Regions from separate parts of the Homo sapiens genome. Here region 1 is linked to region 2. The links are contacts of gene promoters, found by promoter capture Hi-C in blood cells and fetal thymus (Javierre and others, 2016). All regions are on one chromosome and are shown on one strand. Each heading gives the region's core, a stretch centred on a gene start or on the middle of the fragment in contact. The rest is flanking DNA. Distances are from core to core; before and after follow the strand shown.

What was found. Contacts are between HindIII fragments. The CHiCAGO score rates a contact against its expected background, and 5 or more counts as called.
Region 1: a fragment that was not itself captured here is called in contact with the fragment with the promoter of ZFR in region 2 in 1 of 17 cell types (total CD8 T cells); the score reaches 5.9 in total CD8 T cells.

Annotation. Positions count from the first base shown.
Region 1 is chr5:34,941,293-34,945,932 of GRCh38, reverse strand. DNAJC21 (DnaJ heat shock protein family (Hsp40) member C21) reads right to left here. Exons shown (of 12, transcript NM_001012339.3): 8 at 908-1,066; 9 at 130-172. Among named protein-coding and RNA genes, the nearest start is that of DNAJC21, 14 kb to the right of the region's middle. The HindIII fragment of the contact is 3,892 bases long and covers 1,445-4,640 here.
Region 2 is chr5:32,441,970-32,446,660 of GRCh38, reverse strand. ZFR (zinc finger RNA binding protein) reads left to right here and starts at 1,921. Exons shown (of 20, transcript NM_016107.5): 1 at 1,921-2,039; 2 at 2,333-2,432. The coding sequence starts at 2,003. RefSeq lists silencers at 1,619-2,308, 2,539-2,878 and an enhancer at 2,270-2,827. The HindIII fragment of the contact is 7,512 bases long and covers 1-4,691 here.

The DNA of each region.
Region 1 (4,640 bases), core at 2,141-4,640, 2.5 Mb before region 2:
ATCAATCTTACAATCAACATAAAATTATGGAGTATAAGTTTCTCTCCTTAACACAGACTACACTGAATAAATAAGAGCACTGCAACTTTATCGTTGGCATTTAATGTTAACAAAACCTTTCTAACATACCTGTGCTGGTTTCTGTTTCTTTTTCTTCTGTTTTTTAGAAAGCCTAAGAGCAAATATAAATCGAAATGTCAAATACTTGACTCTGTGAAGAGTAAGTGGAAAAAAAAAAAAGTTGAAACACTAGTGATAAAGTAGTAAAACAGAAGTAAAAGATTAAAAATATTTAATATCTTAAAGCATTAAAAGGAAAATAAAGTATTCACATTGTCATTTTAGAGAATAACACAAGGCTGTAGTTCAATGGATAGTAATTAGCTTATCAACTGCCAGGTATAAAAACTGCTTTTAATATAGTGATAATATGTTCTATAAATATTATAGTTGACGTCTGTATCCACTTCAACACTATAAAGTTCCATTAACTAGAAAATATGGAGACAATCTTTTCTAGTTAGAATAACTTCCTTGGGATAAAACAGCCTTTAAGGCCGGGCGCAGTGGCTCACACCTGTAACCCCAGCACTCTGGGAGGCTGAGGCAGGTGAATTACCTGAGATCAGGAGTTCAAGACCAGCCTAGCCAACATGGTGAAACTCTGTCTCAACTAAAAACACAAAAATTAGCTGGGCGTGGTGGTGTGTGCCTGTAGTCCCAGCTACTTGGGAGGCTGAGGGAGGAGAATCACTTGAACCCACAAGTTGGAGGTTGCAGTGAGCTGAGACTGCGCCACTGCACCCCAGCCTGGGCAACAGAGTGATTCTCCATCTCAAAAAAAACCTTTTAATGCAATCTCTGAATGTGATAAGTATTTCTAGTGACATTTAATATTTAGAAGTACTTTTGTTTTGGTGCATCTTCCATTTCTTCCTCAGAATTGTCATCTAATGGATTTTCATCAATTTGAGGTCTTGAAAAATTTTCTTCTTCCTCCTCCAGCTGTTGTTTTAGCAAGGCCACCATTTCCCGATGCTTCTTTGACTTCTCGTGATTCTTCATGCTGAAAGAGCAATCTGACGTGAGCAGCTGCGCTAAAATTAGTTCACGTGTCCAGATAATGTTGCTGGATAACTGCAACCAAGATAAAATTAGCTTTTTTCCCACTAAGCAAAACGTTTCTGATTCTATTTATTTTTTTCTTTTTTTTTATTTGTTCATGATTTTATACAGAGAAACAGAACGTGTCAGGATTCCTTGGCAGTGAGCATACTGGAAGCTCGTGGCCACACTCTTTCTTTCCGTACCACAGCTTTCCCTGTCTTTCTCTGTCCTTTTATCTACATACATTTTCTTCCTTTCTGGGGATGGGGGAATGTCGGCAGGGGGAGGTTTGGACAAATTCTCTACTTATTATTTTGATTTTTCAATTCTTAAAGCTTCCGCCATTGTTTTCTTTTAATCACTAAGTATTTGCTAAGTGTTTTTACATTCCAGGCCATCCCACAGACTTGGAGGGATCACTGGGAAATTAGAAGACACACATTTTAATGTTAAAAGGAAGAGCCCCCTGGACTAGAGAAATGGTGGTGGGAAGGCTTGAAATACAAGAGCAGTTTACTGCCTCTTGCTTTTTCAACAGCTGCTTTTCACCTTCTCAGGAGAGGTCTCCTTTCTCACTCTCACCACCGTAACGTACATTCAGACACATCTCTATCCCTGTGTTCAAAACCCTGCTGGCAATGTCTGTCTCAGCACACCTACAGGCAACTAAAAAGCATTCAACAAAACAGGGTTGACAACATAAGCTACAAGAGTTATATCAACTAAAAAGCAGGAAACTTTGTCAACTATCTACTTCATCTCATCTGTTCAGGCTTTTGGTATTATAGTTTTAGTTGCTGTTTTTCTTTCCTACTAAAATTCTCCTTGAGACCAAGCTGCCCTGGAGATAATGGAAGATCCTGTGTCTGAAAGTAAGTCCTCCAAAAAAGTTATAAGCACATGTCAAAAGGACACAAGGGTGGTTTGAAGGAATGCTCACTAACCAATTCTGGAAAAATTTGAGCATGAAAAGGTCAGTAATGAATTATAAAACACTGAAAAAAAGAAATAAATTCAAACTGATAATAGATAAATGGATAAAAGGGAAGGCTCCTGTTTACAGCAGAAGGCCAAGTGCTAACTGATAAAAACTTGAGGGGGTACTGGCACTGGAAAAGCATCATTCTGCAACCATCATAAAAAAGACTGACGCAAGCTAAAACCATCAACAGATGCTAAAGCTATGAGGAAAACTTTTATGAGAAGCAAGATATCTGCATAGTTTTAAAGTGTCTCCTCACAGATTAAACATGTTACAAGGGAAAACCTGTTGCAAGGGAAAAAATACTAACTCTATAGTAAAATTAGTAGTATAGTAGTAAAATTAGATGACACCTTGATTGGGTGATGAAAATTATCACGACAAATGAGGGGTAGAAGGACTTTACGTGTCTCCAGCTATGAATCCCTGAGAGCACAACATGCTTGTGCGGCGTCCCTCCTGGGGCTGCATAACCTGAATCTAATCATGAGGAAATGCACAAAGACAAAATGAGAAGAATTCTATGAAAAAAGTGAAAACAGTGTACTTCTAAAATGTAAACAGCATAAAAGACAACACAAGCTGTTCCAGATTATGTTCTTAGACTGCATTCTGTATTGGAGAAAAATTCTATATTAATAAATAATTGATTGGCAAAATTGGAATGCAGGTAGTAAATTAGATAAAAATACCATATCAATGTTAATAATTTCTTTTATTTGGTCACTGTAGCATGGTTACATAAGAGAATAACCTTACTTTTTTTTTTTATTTTGAGACGGAGTTTTGCTCTTATTGCCCAGGCTGGAGTGCAATGGCACGATCTTGGCTCACCACAACCTCCGCCTCCTGAGTTCAAGCGATTCTCCTGCCTCAGCCTCCTGAGTAGCTGGGATTACAGGTATGCGTCACCACGCCCAGCTAATTTTGTAGTTTTAGTAGAGACGGGGTTTCTCCATGTTGGTCAGGCTGGTCTCAAACTCCCAACCTCAGGTGATCTGTCCACCTCAACCTCCCAAAGTGCTGGGATTACAGGCGTGAGCCACTGCGCCCAGCGAGAATAACCTTATTCTTAAGATATAGTGAAGTATTTAGAGGTAAAGGAACACTATATATGTAAGTTACTTTCAAATTATTCAGAAAAATACTGTGTGTGTGTTGAGCGTGTAGAGAGAAAGAGGACATGCAAATTGTGCAAAACGTTAGTAACAGGTCAATCAGACACACTATATTCTCTTCTTGCAATTTACCTTTAAGTGTGTCATTTCCAAATAAAAAAAAATTTTTAATCTCCTTCATTGTTGACCTTTTTCTTGCTTGTTTCTAATTTTTCTGCCTCTTTCCACTTCCCCTAGTACTCTGTCATTTCTCCCTGAGGTCATATGGTAATACCATTTATGACTCTCACAGCGCCATTCTCATCCTTTGGCCTCCTTTCTCTCTGATTGCCCATTTTGCTTTTTTTCCCTTGCTGATTCTACTCCCATTTTCTCCCGTGTTGTTTCCTCCCTCCTTTATAATAATGGTATCCGTTTTAATACTTCTTTCTTCATCATTGTTCCCCTAAGATAAAGTTCTTCCACTTCAGCAAAGATACTCTGGGCCAGACAAGTTTAAAGCCCCTATATTGGCAGCATCAGCCTGCATGGGACAATGATGGTGGGAAGTGAGTCTGACACCAATGATGGAGGGAGATGATTAGACACGGTCTAGACTTTTTGCCCATGTGACTATGTCTTCTTTGCCAAAACAAGCAATGCTTCTGGAGACAGTGCATGTGTTTTAAAAGCAGCTATAGGAATACTGGGATGAGTGACAATCAGTACAACAGGTTTAATGGCAGGTACAAATACCTCTTTCTACCCTGCTGGAAAGGAATCCCCCGAGACAGTATGTGGGGCTAGTTATCAACTGCTACAAGCACATTGTTTTTAGAACTTTCAAAATGTTACACTTCACCTCAAAAAAAAACACAAGGGCCAGGCGCTGTGGCTCACGCCTGTAATCCCAACACTTTGGGAGGCCGAGGTGGGTGGATCGCCTGAGGCCAGGAGTTTGAGACCAGCCTGACCAACATGGTGAGACCCTGTCTCTACTAAAAATACAAAAATTAGCTGGGTGCGGTGACCTGCATCTGTAGTCCCAGCTACTCGGGAGCTTGAGGCAGGAGAATCGCTTGAATCCAGGAGGTGGAGGTTGCAGTGAGCTGAGATCGTGCCACTGCACTCCAGCCGGGGCAACAGAGTGAGACTCTGTCTCCAAAAAAAAAAAAAAAAAAAAAAAGAAAACACAAGTTCAGAGATACTAAACTTACTCCTTTTAACTGGATGCAGTGGCTCACGCTTGCAATCCTAGCACTTTGAAAGGCTGAGGCAGGTGGAACACTTGAATCCAGGAGTTCAAGACCAACCTGGACAACATGGCAAAACCCCATCTCCAAAGAAAATATTTAGGTTGGTGCAAAAGTAACTGCAGTTTTTTAGCTGGCCATGATGGCAGGTTCCTGTAGCCCTAGCTACTTGGGAGGCTGACATGGGAGGATCATCTGAGT
Region 2 (4,691 bases), core at 672-3,171:
AATGAAGTTCAAGGCAAAATACCTTTAAAATACAGTTCTAATGTCCTATGTGTAGGAGGTATTTCTTCCTAGCAACATCCTTGGGGCACAAATAACTTTTGCCTGGGAAAACATCAGTATTCTCAAAAATAATGACACTTAACTTTTCTCCAAGGTTCTACATTTTCTCTTTCTGAAATGAGTAACAGGACAAATCAGACAGGTTCTGAGAGCCTGTACTTTTGTAGGAGGCGTGGGGAGCAAGGTTGGCACAAAAAAGAATTGAGGCATTGTTTCTGCTCTGGCACAAGAAAGTAGGACAAAGCCCTGAATTTCATGGGTGGGTTCTGATTCACCCTTTGCATTTCTTTTTTTTCCTTTCCTTTTTTTTTTTTTTTTTAAGACGGAGTCTCGCTCTGTCGCTCAGGCTGGAGTCCAGGGGCGCGATCTCGGCTCACTGCAACCTCTGCTTCCAGGGTTCAAGCGATTCTCCTGCCTCAGCCTTCTGAGTGGCTGGGACTACAGGCGCCCGCCACCACGCCCGGCTTTTTTTTTTTTTCTTTTTTTTTGAGACGGGGTTTCACCATGTTGGCCACTGACCTCACCTCGTGATCCACCCGCCTCGGCCGCCCAAAGTGTTGGGATTACAGGCGTGAGCCACCGCGCCCGGCCAGCATTTCCTTTTAATGTTCATATCCAACAATGAGGAGAGATGAGGAGCAGGGAGTCTGGGGGATGGGCATGGAGAAGGTAAGGAAGAGGTGAAATGCAGGCAGTACATATGTACTTGATGGAAGACACGAAACATAAGGCCAGAGAAACTAGACGATCAGAAGAGGGACTGGAAGAGGAAAGAGAATGGTTGAAAACGAACTGAGAAACTAAAGGGAAGAAAGCGAGGAAACAGAGGGAAAGAGGAAATGCTTACATGGGGGCAAGTACTGTTCTGTCCTTACCACTAAAGATCTGGCACGTGATCTGGTCTCCCTCTCACTTGACTCCAGCCAGACTGATCTTCTTGCTCTTGAACATTCATTCCTTCATCTGGACCCTTCCACTTGCTGCTCTTCCTGCAGGCATCTCCCAGGCCTGTCCTTCCTTCCTTCAAGTGGTCTCCCTAACCACACTCTACATGAAATAGCACCTCCCTTACCCTTATTTTCCTTACTCTGCTTTATTTATGCTTGAAGCTCCAGTCACCATCAGACAGAATTTCTGTGTTTTGGCTACCGGCTGTTGGCTGACATATACCCGCTCCTAGAACGTAAACTCCACGGGAACAGGGACTTTGTTTTGTTCTCTGCCGTATCTCCAGCACCTACAACACTGCCTGACACCCTGCTGGGTGACCGATATACGCCGGATGGCTCAGGGAGTGGGTGCAGGTCGAGGAAAGGGTATAGCAAGAGGTATGTCCGGGAGGGATGTTTAGGGTGTGCTTTTAGTCCAACAGAAAAGCACTCTCCATCCTTTTTCTATTTCTCTCCTCTCCTTCTCCCTCCCTCCGCACTTCAGAGGTTGGGGAAAAGCTGCGGGAAAGCAGGAAATAAGGAAAAATCCTAAATTGCCCAGCTCGAATTCCAATGAAAAATTAATGAGCGAGGAAGACAGGGAGGCAGGGAATAAGTGCACATGCAAAAGTTAAGGAAGCCAGTGGAAAGCAAAGAAAAAGGCGAACAGACGTCACTCTCTCTGGTCACGCTCCCCGACTCCCCAGAGGACAGGCGAGGCGCTTCTGGCACACGCCCCCGTCGCCCCGCGGCCGCGCGGCGTCACCACCACTTCGGAGAAGGCCAGGCCCCTCTTCCCCCGCGGGCTTCCCCGCGCCCGCACCGCCGAGGCCCCGGCACGCGCCCGGGGGAGCCGCGAAGACGGCGGGGACTACAGCTCCCAGGATGCCGAGCACAGGCGCGCCTGCGCAGTGCGGTCGGAGGCGGCGGTCTGTTCTCCGCTGAGGAGGAGCGGGGCAGAGGAGGGAGGCAGCGGGTGAGAGTTCAGAGTTCAGCAGCAGCAGCCCGAGCCCATGATTCCCATATGCCCTGTAGTTTCTTTCACCTATGGTGAGTCTAATGTGGCCCGCGAGGCCTCTGCCCGGCCCCCTCCCTGGCCCCGGGCAGCGGGGAGCCGCGGGGGTTGGGGCAGGCTCCGGGGAGGAGGCGGCGGCCGCCACCCGGGCGTGCGAGTGAGTGAGGGAGTGCGAGGCGGGAGGGGGAGGCGGCGCGGCCGCGGCCTGGGCCCCGCCAGGGCTGCTCTCACGGCGCCTCTCTCTTTCTCTCCCTGCCCTCCCTCGGCGTCTCGGCTCCTCTGTGTCTCTTGTCCCGCCATGGGACCCGACTCTTCGTGCCCGCCGCAGTGCCCAGCCGGCTGGGGGAAGATGCCAAAATGGCGACCGGCAACTACTTTGGATTCACCCACAGCGGGGCGGCGGCGGCGGCGGCTGCGGCCCAATATAGGTAACGGCATCCTGCCTTCTCTCTGTTCGCCCCTTGCTCTCCCCTCGGTCCGGATCCTGTCGATGCGACGCCCCCGCGCCCGTCCCCAGCCATCCCAGAGCCCCGGCCCGCTGCAGGCCTGGCCCGGCCCAGCCCGGCGGCCTCTCCCGCCCCGCCCCGCCCCGCCCCGCCTTGCCCGGCCCGGCCCGGCCCGCGGCGGGGAGCGGCCCCCAGTAGGGGGGAGGTAGAGACGGCGGAGGTGTAGGGACGTGGAGGCCTCAGGGCCCTTCAGCGGCCCCTTAACTAAAATGGCCTCCTGCGGCCGCCGAGCGGAGCCGCCACCGCCGCCCGGCAGGCCCCCCAGTCCCCGCCTCCGCGCGTCCAGCCCCCACCTCCCATCTTCTTCCCACTTGGGGGATGGAGAGGGTGGCTGAAGGGACCTCACGGGGAGTGCCGTGTCGCAGGTCCACTGGCTTCTCGTGCGACGCCTCTCTGCGTCGTCGCCTGGTGCTTCAACCCCCGGAGCCCAGATAACGTGTCGTTGTCTCGGGTACCTTTTCCTCCGCCGTGGGGCTTCTTCCCCAGACGCTCCATCGCTAGCGAGTCCTGCTGACAAACTGCGGGTGTCACTGTGTTCATCGGGTTCCTTTAGTTTTTCCTGCAAGGAGAGAGATTCACATACCAACCACCTGTAAATTGTGTAGTTCTTAGACTGGAAAAGATGTGCGAAGTTTCTAGTGCTGATAAATGAGTGCCCAGCCTTGTTTGAGCTATGGAGTTTAGGCCCCAGGTGGGCCTGTCATTCTCCTTGCGGGGGTCTTTCCCCTGCGGGGAATGGTGGGGAGGGAAGAAGATGCAAGTGAGATTGTACTGAGTCATTGTAATGCACCGGATGAAATCCCTGCTTTAAGGGAAGCTCTCATTTCTGAAGTCTGTAGTTCATTATACATCTTACCAAAGACAAACACAACAGTGGATTGTTAAATTGTTACTTTTGAGTCAATCTGAGACTTTTGATTCAGGCCATAAGCGCACACGGCTCCTGCGTGATATGCTTTTTATGTATGTTAGATGTTGGTTAAACCCAGGCAGTTTTTTTCATTTGATTTACTTCAGGAGGCACGGTGTTTAATGGAAAGGGCATCATTGGGAGCCAGAAGACCCGAGTTCAGTCTCTTTTGCTCTTGATTTTTTTTTTTTGAATAAATAATTTTTCTTAGAGAGAAAGGACCTATGTTGCCCAGGCTGATCTCGAACTCCTGGGCAGAGTCCTGCCTCGGCCTCCCAGAGTGCTAGGATTACCGGCATGAGCCACCACACCTGGCCTCTTTTGCTCTTGATTTTATGACGTTGGGAACATCATATAGTTGGGTTTTCATGTTCATCATCTGTAAAATGAGATGCTGGGCAAACTATCTTTTTGGGCTGAAACTTGTGGTTTTGAGAAACCAAGTTACTGTTTTCCATGGCATCCTAAGATGCCATTTGTTGTAAAAGGTACCATTATTGTATGTAGCACTAAAAAAAAATGCTGCCAGTTAAGACACTGCTTAAGACTCCATTAAGAGATGTCAAAATGTATAAATGTGCATCATATTGGTGAAACTAGATTTTACTAATTGTTGAATGCCATGTGGCATTTTACAAGTGTTTTTTCATGAGGCCTGCATTCCAGAAAAAGCACTGAGATGACAAATTATTACAGCAAAATCTTGGGGGCATTTCAAGTATTAGCAAATCGTTTGCTTATAATTTTTGATAATTAGACAAAAAAAGTTTCAGCTACTTTGATAAAACTTTTTAGGACTTTTAAAAAATTCAACAGCTTTTTGGGGTACAAGTGGTTTTTGGTTACGTGGACTAATTATATAGTGAATTCTGAGATTTTAGTAGGGCTAATAATTTTCAAGGAGAGGAAAAAACCATCTTTTTCTCAGAAGAGATAGCTAATCAGCATCTGTGCCATAAATCTGCTGGCAATTACTAGTATTCCGTCTAGAAAAGATTGTGTTTAACCATTAAAATTTTACTTGTTTTACTCAGGTTTTTTCTGTTTTCCTCATATGGGCTGAGTGATAAGATTTGTTGAATTACTAACTTTATTTACTGTAAAGTGGTGGGTTCTTTGTGGCACTTCTGAAATGTTTTTCCTAAATGCAGACCTACAGATAGAAATGAAGAAAGGAAATGCTGATTTAAAGATAATTAATAATTTTTTGATAAAATATTTATGTGATTGTTTTATCCCAGTATAGGGAACTGTGACAGAATTTCTGTTTC